Linked DNA regions of Homo sapiens: region 2 is linked to region 1. The links are contacts of gene promoters, found by promoter capture Hi-C in blood cells and fetal thymus (Javierre and others, 2016). All regions are on one chromosome and are shown on one strand. Each heading gives the region's core, a stretch centred on a gene start or on the middle of the fragment in contact. The rest is flanking DNA. Distances are from core to core; before and after follow the strand shown.

Region 1 (6,009 bases), core at 2,771-5,270:
CTCGACAAGGACTGTACAAGACAGCCACTGGCCAACAGAGATCATGGCAGAGCTTGCAGAGTAGCTGGCCTTTGGCTTAACAAAGGCAGGCTGATCTCTTCCCCCAAATCTGGACTCACGTGCCGAGTCAGAAAGAGAAACAACACTGGGACTTCACTTATATAGGGGGGAAGGGTGGGAGGGTGCAGAGCAGGCCAGCTACCCAAATCTCTAGACGCCTTGCAACAATTCGCAACGGAACTGTTCTGAGCCCTGTTTCATCTCACTCACTCTACACGTTTTCACTTTCATTGCATTTTTGCAACTCCTTTGGACCAATCCAGAGATACAGCCACAGGAGAGAGAGAGGCACCCTGGGAGCAAACGGTGGTGTTGGGGTGACAGAGAGAGAGAAATCCCCACAGCAATTCCAAATAAAAGTCGTCCCCACTTAGTAACGCATCGGAAGAAGGGCCTGGAGGGAAGACAGGAGAGGAGAGGGTGCAGCAAGCCAAGGCCCTCAGTTGAGAGCAAAGGCGGTGCGAGGTCCCCCACACTCCTTACCCAGGGAGCCGCCGGGGTGCCCCTGATGCTGATATGTCCACAAGCTGCCAACCCAGAGGGCCCAGAGCACATACCAGCTGGAGGATGAGTGGAAAGAAGGAGGAGAAAAGTCCATATTTATCTGTTTTTATAACCTCGGCCTGGTCTTATTTTTTCTATTAAGTACAATAAAATGGGTGAGCTTGCAGTGAACACCACACAAAGCAATGTTCAGTGAGGTCTAGAAGCGTTCGGCCGAGGAAAACTGACAAGACAGGCTAATGAACCGTACAGACAGGGAGAAAATAGCCAGCATTTGCTAGATTTCAAACTCTCGCTGTCTTTCTTAGACCACCTATCTTGGATTTATTCCTAATAAAATAAGAAATAAGCAGACCCTACACTTGTCTTTTCTTGAAGATAGAAGGGGGAAAAATGCTCCGGAACAAAGCCCCTACAATCAGAGGCGGTCACTGGCAGTTAACACTCCCATTATTATAGAGGGTAAATAAAATAAAGACAAAAATTAAAAGCGACAAGAAACAGGTCAAGTTTGCTAGCAAAGCTTTTACAAGCTCATCTCTTCAGGTCGAATCCCAGAGCCAGCCTTAATGAAGCAATAATAGCCACATTATTCAAAAATTTTCATTTCGATGGAAATGTATCTAAAAGGGACTTAATCATATGCAAATAATAAAAGGAGGTGGTAGTGACCCAGCAAGCAATATGCATACAGATTTTTTTTTTTCCCAGGGATGTTGAAATTGAAAAGCGCATACCTGGTCAGTTAGATTTGCTGATCTTGTTATATCTTCACTGTCTGATTTTGATCCTCCTTCTCTATCGTCTATCACCAAATCGATAGGCATTTTCCCTTTCAAACAGCTAATATACCGGTGGCAGAAATTGTCACATAATTCGTGTACCTACATTATGACAGAAATAAAAAAATGGGAATATAATCAGGAGTGCATAAATGACATTGACAAGTGCAATCCACCCCCCTTGTGAGATCCAAACTTCCAAATAGGGGAAACACAGGGCAATTGTCCTCCAGAGACCCCCAGACGCATCCAGAATTAGGAATAACTTTCTTTTCTTGCAAAATAGAGATATCCCAGAAAATTGACAGTGACAAGATGATTCACAGGCTACAACATATTCAACACCCGTGTTAAATTCATCTGCTCCTGGGGCTGTGGTCATTAGAGAGGTGACCTGCGTAGGTGACATTTAAGGTAAACTATTTAATTTCATCCAGTGACTTTATCATAAATCCCTTTCTAATGTGTCTAAGAAAAAAATGTATACGTGTGTATATATGCACATATATATTCTCCAAAGAACCTGTACTGTGGTGGCATAGGATAAATGCCTGACAACCCAAGTCCTTATTATATTTGTAATGAAGGTTTTTATCTCTAAGGGGTATATTTTAGAAAACTTTCTTTGAAAAAAAAATGGAAGGAAATCAAGTTGCCAGTACTCCTGATATGGGAAAACATACAGCCACACAAAAACATATCAAATTGATTTTTTTTTTTTTTTTTTTTTTTTACAAAAAGGAGAAGGAATGCCTCAAAATATTTAAGTGTAAGTGCAGAGGTTTCCTAGAGGTCCCAGGCATCACTGACATGCAAAAATTCACAAGAAACCCCAGTGTGCTTGCAATTTAATGTTAGTTTGAATTACAATGCATTAAGTTTTTATTGCTGAGATTTATAGAACAGCTAGCAAAATCATGTTATCCCACACCCTTTCTTGAGTGTGAAGGTGGAGTGTGTGCAGGATTCACAGATTCAAGAAATTGACACAACTATCAACTCTGCTTTGTCTCTGCAAAACGTTTAATGTGCCTCCCCACCACCTCCTCCAGACTCCTTCCCGCTCCTCCTCCTTCTCCCCTTCTGCCTCTCCCCTGTGTCTGATCTGCCCTTGCTCTCAAGACTGTCTTCCAGAAACTCACTACAACTGAATAAAACTTTTTTCTCCCTCAGAGGTAGCAAAGAAGAGAAGGAAGAGGATGAGAAGAGACAACAGAGGTATGAACTTGTGAAACAACCTCAGAGCAGCATTCGAAACATCAGCTGGGATGCACAGAATTGCAACTATTTACACAAAGCCAGCAAGTTATTAAGAATGAACACAAGGCTAGGGCGTTTGTGATCCCAGTTTTAGTGGCTGAAATTGTAATTAAACTGCGAAGAGAAATGGACGCTAAGATTGGCCTTGACACTAATTACCAGAAAGAAAGACATTTATGCAAATGTATCAGAAGGCTGAACTTCAGCCATTCGGAACCCTCCCCCCTGTGTGTTTGGGGGTAAGGGGTAAGTAAAAGGAAAAGAGGCTAGAGAAATTACCTTCTCTAATTCCAATAGATGAAACCTTAATACTTGTATGGCTTGAATCATCTGCAAAGATACAAAAACAATAAGCACCCCATTCCTGGCTTGCAGAAAACTGGCTGCCACAGCTCTACCATCTCCAGCCCACCCCCTCCCACCAGTAAATAGAGTTATTTTGATTTATGGCAATAACACTAAAACTTAATAGCAGCAACTGGGTACCATCTAGAGGTTTATATTTCTTAAGAAAAAAAAAACTAGCTAAAACAACAACACAGCATCTAAGTGAGGATCATAAACACTCTCCTCCCCCATGGCTCTCCCCTTTCTCAGTCCCACTGGCCCCACCCCACCCCAAAAGGGCCACAACACTGGACTACATGTGTCCTTGGAAGGAGTGGACAGAAAAATATTCCAAATGGCCCTCAAACTGTGGCTTTTCCCATTGCAAAGTTTCTGCTGCCTTCCTTACACCTTTCAGGCAAACTGGTTGTTTGGGGGCTCTTGTCCGGTGGCTGCCCTCGTGATGGGACTTAGAGGGCTAGGAAGTCCGCAAAGTTTAAGCACACATGCTGACAGGCCGGGAGATAAATCCCCGCGCTGATTAGAGCTGCGCAGCCCGGCTGTCATAAAAAACAAAAGCTCGCGTTTCCCCGCGCTGGCTCGCCCGGCCCCTCTCGAGATGAATTTATTTCCCCGGGATCTTGTCCCGGACCAGTTGTCCGTGTACAGAAACATTTGCAGCCAACCTGCAGGCACGGGAAGACCGGTCTAGAAATCTCAGGGCTCTCAAAGCAAAGCTGAGGGCGTTGGAGGTGGGAGGTAGGGGGTCGGGGGCGGGGGAGGGAAATAGGGGTCCGCTCTTACCAAGTTATCCAGTTCTGGATTAGAAGAAAATAGAGGTTTTTCTGCGCGAATCTAAATACAAGTGAGAAGGAGAGGGGAGAGGGAGGGGAGAGAAAAAAGAAAGAAAAATTTGAAATCTGGTCGCCTTCCTAGTTTCTTGCCTCATTACACTGTCGGGGGCAGGAAGTAACCCTCCGGGAGGGACCCGGTGACACCGAGTTCGTCCCGCGCAGAAACATTTCAGTGTGAATTAAATAAGCTGAAAACAAGCCCAGAGCTCAATCTTACTTCTACTAGCAACTACGGCTCTCGGGGAGGCTGCTCAGACCGCCGAGTCCACAGCAGCTACAACCGTGGTGTTCTTGATTTTATTCTGCAGAGTGAGCTCTCCACGTTTGCTTTCTGGAGGGTGAGTGGGGATGCAGATGGGTGATTTTAAGTTATCTGCAAACAGACACTCAGACAGAGAGAAAATCTGAGGTTGGAGGTAACATGCATGGCTTAAGGCCGACTACGTGCTGGCTACTTTTGAAAGTGTGCCGTGTGTGTGTGTGTGTGTGTGTGTTCGCGCGCGCGCGCGCGCGTGTGTGTTGGCGAAGGGGGGGCTCTCTTTTTGTTTCTTTTACTTTTTAACATCTATTTTGCTGACCTGTTTGGCGAACACGGCTATATCTTCATTGAATGACTCTGACGAGCAGACGTCCCCGCCCGCCACCCCCGGCTCGCGGGGGGTACAAGTAGCTAATTCACATTTCTCAAAAATCAGTGCTAAGAGAGGGAAGAGGGGGTGTCTGCAAGAAAATACAACAGTCACAAACAACATAATGGTTAGTCCCCAGTCAATGGAAAAAGGTGCCCAAGAAAAACAGCTGGAGGAGCAAGAGGAACAGACCCCCTCTCCGATTGTGTCATCTACTTTTTTCCTTTTCCTCCCCCTCCCCCAGACCCAGGTGACCGCTCACCTCCCCTTCCTCCTGGAGCCCTGAAGTCGGAGGCCCTGAGCCATGGACGGTATCTGAGGATCGGTTTAGCGTATCTGGCCGGAGAAATTGGCAACATTTGCTACGAATAAAACCCAAGCGTTTCCAGCAGCCATTTTGAATTAAGTTTCCCACCCGACAAGCCCTCGTCCCCTCCACTGCACATCCAGGATCCGGTGGAGGAGAAAGGCGCCGGGCGGAGAGTTGGGGAGGGCTGGTTCCTGCGGGTTCCTCCTAGGCGGCCGCGCGAAGCCCAGGCTCGGGGGATCTCGGTGGCAGGCGCTCAGCTAACTTGGGGAAAGGACGTCCATGGCCGTGGGGCCGACTGTCAACGGGCTGCACCTAGGGATCCCAACCCCAAGGCCCTCGGAGAGCCGGGAGGCTCCTCCTCAGCTCCACGCACATTCCCCTCCCTTCGCTGATAGCCCCCACCGCCCCCCAAAGAAAGTTCCTTCAAATGTTCCTGCAGTAGAGCCTTTCATTTTGTCTCTGCGAAGTGGCAAAGCAGCTAGTATTGCGAGGGGCCTAGATGTCGCTTGTCTCAGCCCATAAAAAAGAAAAAAAAAAAAAAAAGAAGAAGAAGAAGAAAGAAAGAAAAGCTTCTTCTAATGCCCAAGGAGGTATCTCAAGTCTTTTATTAGCTCTCACAGCTCAGCTGGGAATTTAACAGTTTGGGGTCCTTTACAAAGCTTCCCCAAATGTTCTGTCCCAGAGCCTAAACCACTTGTAGTTAACTCTGCGGACAGAACGGTGGGAATTAAACAAGCCCATCGCACAAGGGATCAGAAAATAAAATAAAAAGATTATATATATTTTTTTTTCCAGCGAGGGAGGGTCAGTGTGTCCTGATTTTTTAAAAATAAATAAATAGAAATAAAAGTTTCTGCAAAGTAAAAAGAGGTTCCCAAATTCATCGGCACACAGTAGGCACAAGTGAGTTTCAAAGGATTCTACTAGCCCAGGGTCTAATCGAATGGCGGAGGAGAAAGCAGTATAAACCGCAGCCAGAAAACAACCTCCGAGGAAGAGCACCCCGAATTTACTTATTTCTAAATCCTGCAGGTTTCGCCTTTGAGCACAAAGTGCTAAAACATCTAGAAGTTTCTTAATGTGTGTAACAATTCAGAGCAAGCTCCTCTCCTTGACTTCAGTGGTCAAACTCCCTAAATGCAAAACATGTTCCCCCTTGCTTGACCTGCAACTGTCCTGCTTTGGTTTTATTGTGCAGTGGCAGAGCCAGCATAAGGCTGCTGAGTAAACTCAGCAAGTCAGAACAATCAGTGGCTTAAAAGAGATTTTCCCTTAAACTAAAA
Region 2 (5,702 bases), core at 2,596-5,095, 430 kb before region 1:
TGGATTTCTTTGGGATAGTTATCTCATTCCCTTTGTCAGTAGTCTTAGTGGAATAGTAAAGCATCCCACTTGAGAGCTGAAGAAGTCTTTGGATAATCTTTCCTCCTTTATTCTCCTGGATTTTGATAATGGTCACATTCCACACTAATCTCCTTAGGTATTTATAGAAAATTTTATCACCTCTTGGCGATCACCATGCTCACTTGTGATCCAGTCATCCCCAACATCCCAATGCTCATAGTCAAAAAAAAAAGAAAAAAGAAAAATCAAGTCCTTTCAATTGCAGTCTATAATATTTCTTTAATGTCTTCTTCATCCCCTCTTCCCCTACTATCACAGTTTGGGTCCTTGGCATGTGTCTCCTAGCCTCATGTGATAGTCTCCTCACCAGTATGCCTGCCTCCCATTTCTCTCCATCCCAATTCTTTGTAATAATAAAAGTAACTCTAAATAATTGATGCCTTATGATGACCTAGTTATTATGATAAACACCTTTTTTTATTTGCTTGTTTGATTGTTTTTGTTTTTTAAGATGGAGTCTCACTCTGTTGCTCAGGCTGGAGTGCAGTGGCGTGGTCTTGGCTCACTGCAACCTCCACCTCCCGGGTTCAACTGATTCTCCTGCCTCAGCCTCCCGGGTAGCTGGGATTACAGGCACCCACCACCATGCCCAGCTAATTTTTGTGTTTTTAGTAAAGACAGGGTTTCACCATGTTGGCCAGGCTGGTCTTGAACTCCTGATCTCAAGTGATCCACCTATCTTGGCCTCTCAAAGTGCTAGGATTACAGGCGTAAGCCACATCGCCCAGCCTTAAACACTTTTTAAAATTTAATCTTCACAGCTCTCCTGAAGAAGATACTTGTTTTTCCCAATTTATAAACAAGGAAATCGAGGCTAAGAGATATTAAGAGACTTATATATGATCACCCAGCAAATAACTATTCTAGGTGGGATTTGAATTCTGTTCTATATGACTCCAAATTCCAGAGGAAGTAGAAACAGCTACCGCCCCTCACACTACTGGCAGAGTAATCTTTCCAAAACACAAATGCCACTTTCTATTTCACTGCTCATAACTCTAATGGTTCCTCCTCTATTGTTATACAATAAAGTCACCCACAAATGAGGCTTTCCATGCTTTAGCTTTTCTGGCCACCTCTTGCCAATCACCATGCTCACTTGTGATCCAGTCATCCTCAACAGCTCGGTGTCCTTAAAACAAGCTACATTCTCTGGTGCCTCTTCCTTTGTGATGTGCTGCTCCTCTGTGAGTCAGGCTTTTTCAGTTTCTTGTATCTGAAAAATCCCTGCTCAATCTTCAAGATGCATCTGACATGTAAATTCTCTGTGAGACCATCCTTGGATCCCCTGGCTAAGCTCATTTCCACCTCCCTGGTGTACCCATTGAACTCCAACATTCCTCTTCTTGGGTCCTCATTACACTGTATTCAAGCACTTGTTGCCCCTTCTGTTTCCCTATTAGATTGTGGCTTCTGCAAAGCTCTGTGCTTTATTGGTTTTCTATCTTTTCAGCTTTCATCCCACCCCACCTTATTTTGCATATTGTAATATATTTGTTCATATTCCTTTAGCCAAAACTCTTCAACAGTTTTCCATCATATTTAGAATAAAATCAGGAAGACTTAATATTGTCCAAAAGGTCTCATGTGTCCTGGCCACTTCTGACCTCATCTCCACCTTCTGCAAGTTCATTCATGTGGCCTCCAAAACCATTCCTTGAACAGATCACGGATATGTCGACCTGAAATCTTCACGCTGACCATTTCATCTGCCTGAAAGGCTTTTTCCCCAGAGATCTGCCGGGATGTTCCCCTTTCTTCATTCAGGTCTTTGTTCAAATGCCAGCTCCTCAGAAAAATTTCCCTGGCCACCCATATGAAATAGAAACATAAAATCACAGCCACCAGCATGCCTGTTACCCTTCTTCCTATTCATAACACTGGCTATTATCTGTTGCTGTCTTACACACCTTGGTGTAAATTTCTTTATTGTCTCCATGCCCACTGAAATGGAAGCCACATGAGGGCAGGCTTCTGCCTGCTTTCTTCAGTGCTATCCCCCCAGGGTTTTCACTTGCAGCTACTTAATAAATGTACATGAGTATATGGACCTCTTTTCCTGATTTCCAGTGTTTACAGCATTTTCAGTTATACTGCAGAACCTCAAAATATGCTTACTATATCCTGAGCAAACTGTGTTATAAATTAGAAGGAATTGCCATGGAATTTCCCCCTCATAAACTTGACAGGTTAAAGAAACATATCAAAAGTTCATTAAATGGCAAGAGGGTGCTAATTTGACAAGTAGTGAAGCAGGAAAGAAGAGAAGGAAGAGAGAATTCCAACATATAATTCGTAAAATTATTTAGTGACCTTGCCTTGCCCTAATATAGGATGCTTTCCTGACCTTACTCCTTCTGCAGTTCCCTCCTCATACTTCAAGGCCCAGGATGAACCTTTCCACCTCCAGGCCCATCCCTGAGCAGCCTCACTCTTTCTGAACTCTAAGGGCTCTAAATGTTGGCCACAACCACATGACTCACATGACTATTAATAGGATCATTCACCACATCCTTCTGTCTCATCTAAACTCATTGTTCCTATCTAATCAACTCCATAGCAGCAACTCAGCCTCTGACATTTTTTTCCATTTTAGCCCAGTCTGAGTCCATAAAATGAGCCACCAACGTACTCAATACAGCCGTTTGTATCAAAGACGACAAAGCATTTATATTCTGATGGAATTAACCCAACATAAACTCCTCCTCAAAATGAGCTGTCAGAAGTGAGAGTCTCACACTGGATAAAAGGGAGTAGGGTGAGTGGACCTACTGGAGGCTCTCCTTCTTGCATGAGCAGCAGGAGGCCAAGACCTCCTGTGCATCCCTGCCTGGACCTGGAGATGGTTTCAGTAGTACCTAGAAAATAGGACCCAAAGCAGCTGTCAACCAACAGCACAGGGTGGCTCTTTGATACCCCTTTTTCATCAGTTTTCATCTGGGTCCCCAACCCAAGAGGTTGCAGAATGAACTGTGACTTATGGAAGAAAGGGGCACTTGTGGAAGAATGCTCCAACACACTCCGTCTCTTCATGGTCCACTTCAAGATTAATTGTTTACCCATTTCCTTAGCTCAAGCTTACTCTATACCCAATCTATCTAGGTGCTTCCTTATTCTTTTTTAACTCAGTCCAGTAGGAAAAGGCTCTAGACCATTTTGACCCCCCAGGAGAGTCTCCCTCCTTAATCTCCACCTATCCCTTGTGATTAGAATGGTCTGTCTTTCCTCTCCTCTCTCCTCTTCTCTAGTTATTCCCTTTCTTCCACTCTCCATCTCTTTTCTCTCCTCCTCTCCTCTTCTCTACTCTCTTCTATTATTTTCTGTTTTTCCTCACTTAGTCTTTCCAGCTTGTTTAACTCCAAAGACCACTTCAAGAAATTCTTACTTCCTAGCTCCAAACCCAACACTCTTTTAGCTCACTTTCAGTACAAAGACAATTTCTTCAGAATGGCATTGATTAAACTTTTGTATGCCTTTCCCACCTGTTTGTTGAGTTGCCCACATTGGACTGAACTCACCTTCTGTTTTCTTTTGCAACATTATAACAGACACACAGGGTGAGACGAATGACTTGGCAGCAGCCCCCACAACTCGAGGAGGAAATCAGCTAAAGACTGGCTCCTACCAGCTGCTCTCTCTATTGACCCCATTCACCTTGACATCAGGACACTGGAAGAAGAAAGAGGAGAAAAAAATCACACGCATGGCTGTGTCCTTACATACTTCTGGGAGGGAGTGTGTCTTTGTGTAGTGGGGGTAGGGGAAGATTTTTGTGCATAGAGGAGAGGGTTATGCAGTAGGGAAAGAGATAGCTGTCTCTCAGTGGTTAAGAAGAAAATAGAGAGGAAATATTCCACTCGAACTATCCTGTACTTAAACTGATGGTTAATTCTATCCCATAAGCATTAAGTTGGTTCATTTTTGCTGGGTTGTAACTTTAGAGGTGTGGGCATGCAATTAAGATTTTCCTAGTATCACCCTACTTAACCCAATGACATTGGGGAGCAGGATTTCCCCATTTTAACAGCTAGTTCAGAGCTCAAGAGGCAGCCCAACAGCAGCCACAGTGAGGAGAGGCTGAGTGGCAGTTCTAATTGACCATTTCTACCCATGTTCCTCTTAGAAACATACAATAAGAGCTGTCACAGCTTCCTGCCAATCACAAGAAATCTGACCCAGACAAAGCACCATCTCAGAGCGAGGGCTGTTTATATATCCAGTAAATTCTGTTTCCATCGCATTATCTTATTTTTAGGTCATTGCAGAGAAGAGCATGCCTAATCATATCATAAAATCATGAATTTAGTAGATTATAGATGATGACTTCAAATCTAATTATGTCCTCTGGCTGCCCAAACAAGACACCATTTAGCATTTGACACCATCAAGTCTTGAAGTTGCAAGTTTGTTCTTTGGGGATACTCTGGAGCTTTTGCAGAATAGAAGCTTGTCAAATACTTAGGAGGCATTGCTGTTTTATGACACAGAGGAAAGAAAACAATGAATTTCTGTTCTGATGTGCAATGAACAGAACTTCAGGATGAGCTGTTTTATTGCATGAAGGGTTGAAGCAACAGAGGAGATTTATGCAGACAAGTTACATGCCACATTTGCCTGTTTTTTCTCCTTTTACAGTCGATGACAGATTTTCACTCTGACACAATTTCAACAACACTCGTGTCATAAGCAATGGAAACTGGAAAGGCAAACTAACTAGACAGACAGCAGCTCATCAGTGCCACACACTCATGCTCAGCTCCTGTGGAATGATCTTGCCATAATAAGGCCAGACATGTGGATTTTAAATGCCTCTACAAGTGGTTAGTTAGCAAGGTGGTCACACATCCATAGATGCACTGACAGAGAAACTACATGAGACAACATGGTGTTTCAGCTTGCAGCTGCCATCCCCACTCCATCAGGGAACACAGCTGGTGCCTTCTCTCTCAAAGATAGCAGGGGGCTGTGGGAAAGATGACAGGGCTTCAGATTCCCCATCCAACTCAGCAGGAGAAAGAAAAGGTCCTCAGACAAAGAAATGCTGATCCAAATTCTGCATCATGCATGGGCACACACAGGTGTTCTCCCATTTTTTAAGTTTACATGGTTCAGCTTGTTGCTGAACGGTGATTAATTCCACAGGAAAAGGACCATGAAAGCTTATAATACTGAAGGTTGAATGAAGGAGAATTACATTTCTCTCCTCTATTGGTGGGGCTTGGCCACAGGACTTTCTGCAGTCAGTAAAATATGCAGGAAATATGTGTCGCTGACATGCAGAAGCTTTGAGAACCAGTATGTGGTTTCCAGGCTTTCTTTTTCCCTCTGCTCAATGACCAGCAATGTCCCAAAGAGAAATTGCTCTGTCAACTGGGCTGTGGAGTAAACAGAACACGGAGCAGTACTAAAGTAGACCCAAGATGGCTAAGAACAAGAAATAACCTTTTATTGTTAAGGGACTGAAATTTGGGAGTTGTTACTGCATTATAACCTAGCCTATTCTAACTGATACAGTCACTTTAAAATGCTATTGGACCATCTATTATAAATCTAAAAGTGGGTGGCATCCTTGCTTGAAAAGTTCAAGTATTTTCTTTCTCTTGCCATACTCTCTTTTTTAT

Evidence for each region. The method cuts DNA at HindIII sites, captures the fragments that hold promoters and counts their contacts. A CHiCAGO score of 5 or more calls a contact.
Region 2: a fragment that was not itself captured here is called in contact with the fragment with the promoter of MEIS1-AS2 in region 1 in 1 of 17 cell types (megakaryocytes); the score reaches 6.0 in megakaryocytes.

The regions. Positions count from the first base shown.
Region 1 is chr2:66,438,341-66,444,349 of GRCh38, reverse strand. It overlaps MEIS1-AS2 (MEIS1 antisense RNA 2), which reads left to right and starts at 4,020. Exons shown (of 2, transcript NR_046625.1): 1 at 4,020-4,125; 2 at 4,661-5,263. It overlaps MEIS1 (Meis homeobox 1), which reads right to left. Exons shown (of 13, transcript NM_002398.3): 3 at 4,366-4,507; 4 at 3,738-3,788; 5 at 2,886-2,936; 6 at 1,302-1,448. RefSeq lists a silencer at 399-693 and enhancers at 268-1,910, 3,710-4,909. The HindIII fragment of the contact is 4,208 bases long and covers 1,090-5,297 here.
Region 2 is chr2:66,866,176-66,871,877 of GRCh38, reverse strand. No RefSeq gene overlaps it. Among named protein-coding and RNA genes, the nearest start is that of LINC01799, 35 kb to the left of the region's middle. The HindIII fragment of the contact is 1,369 bases long and covers 3,161-4,529 here.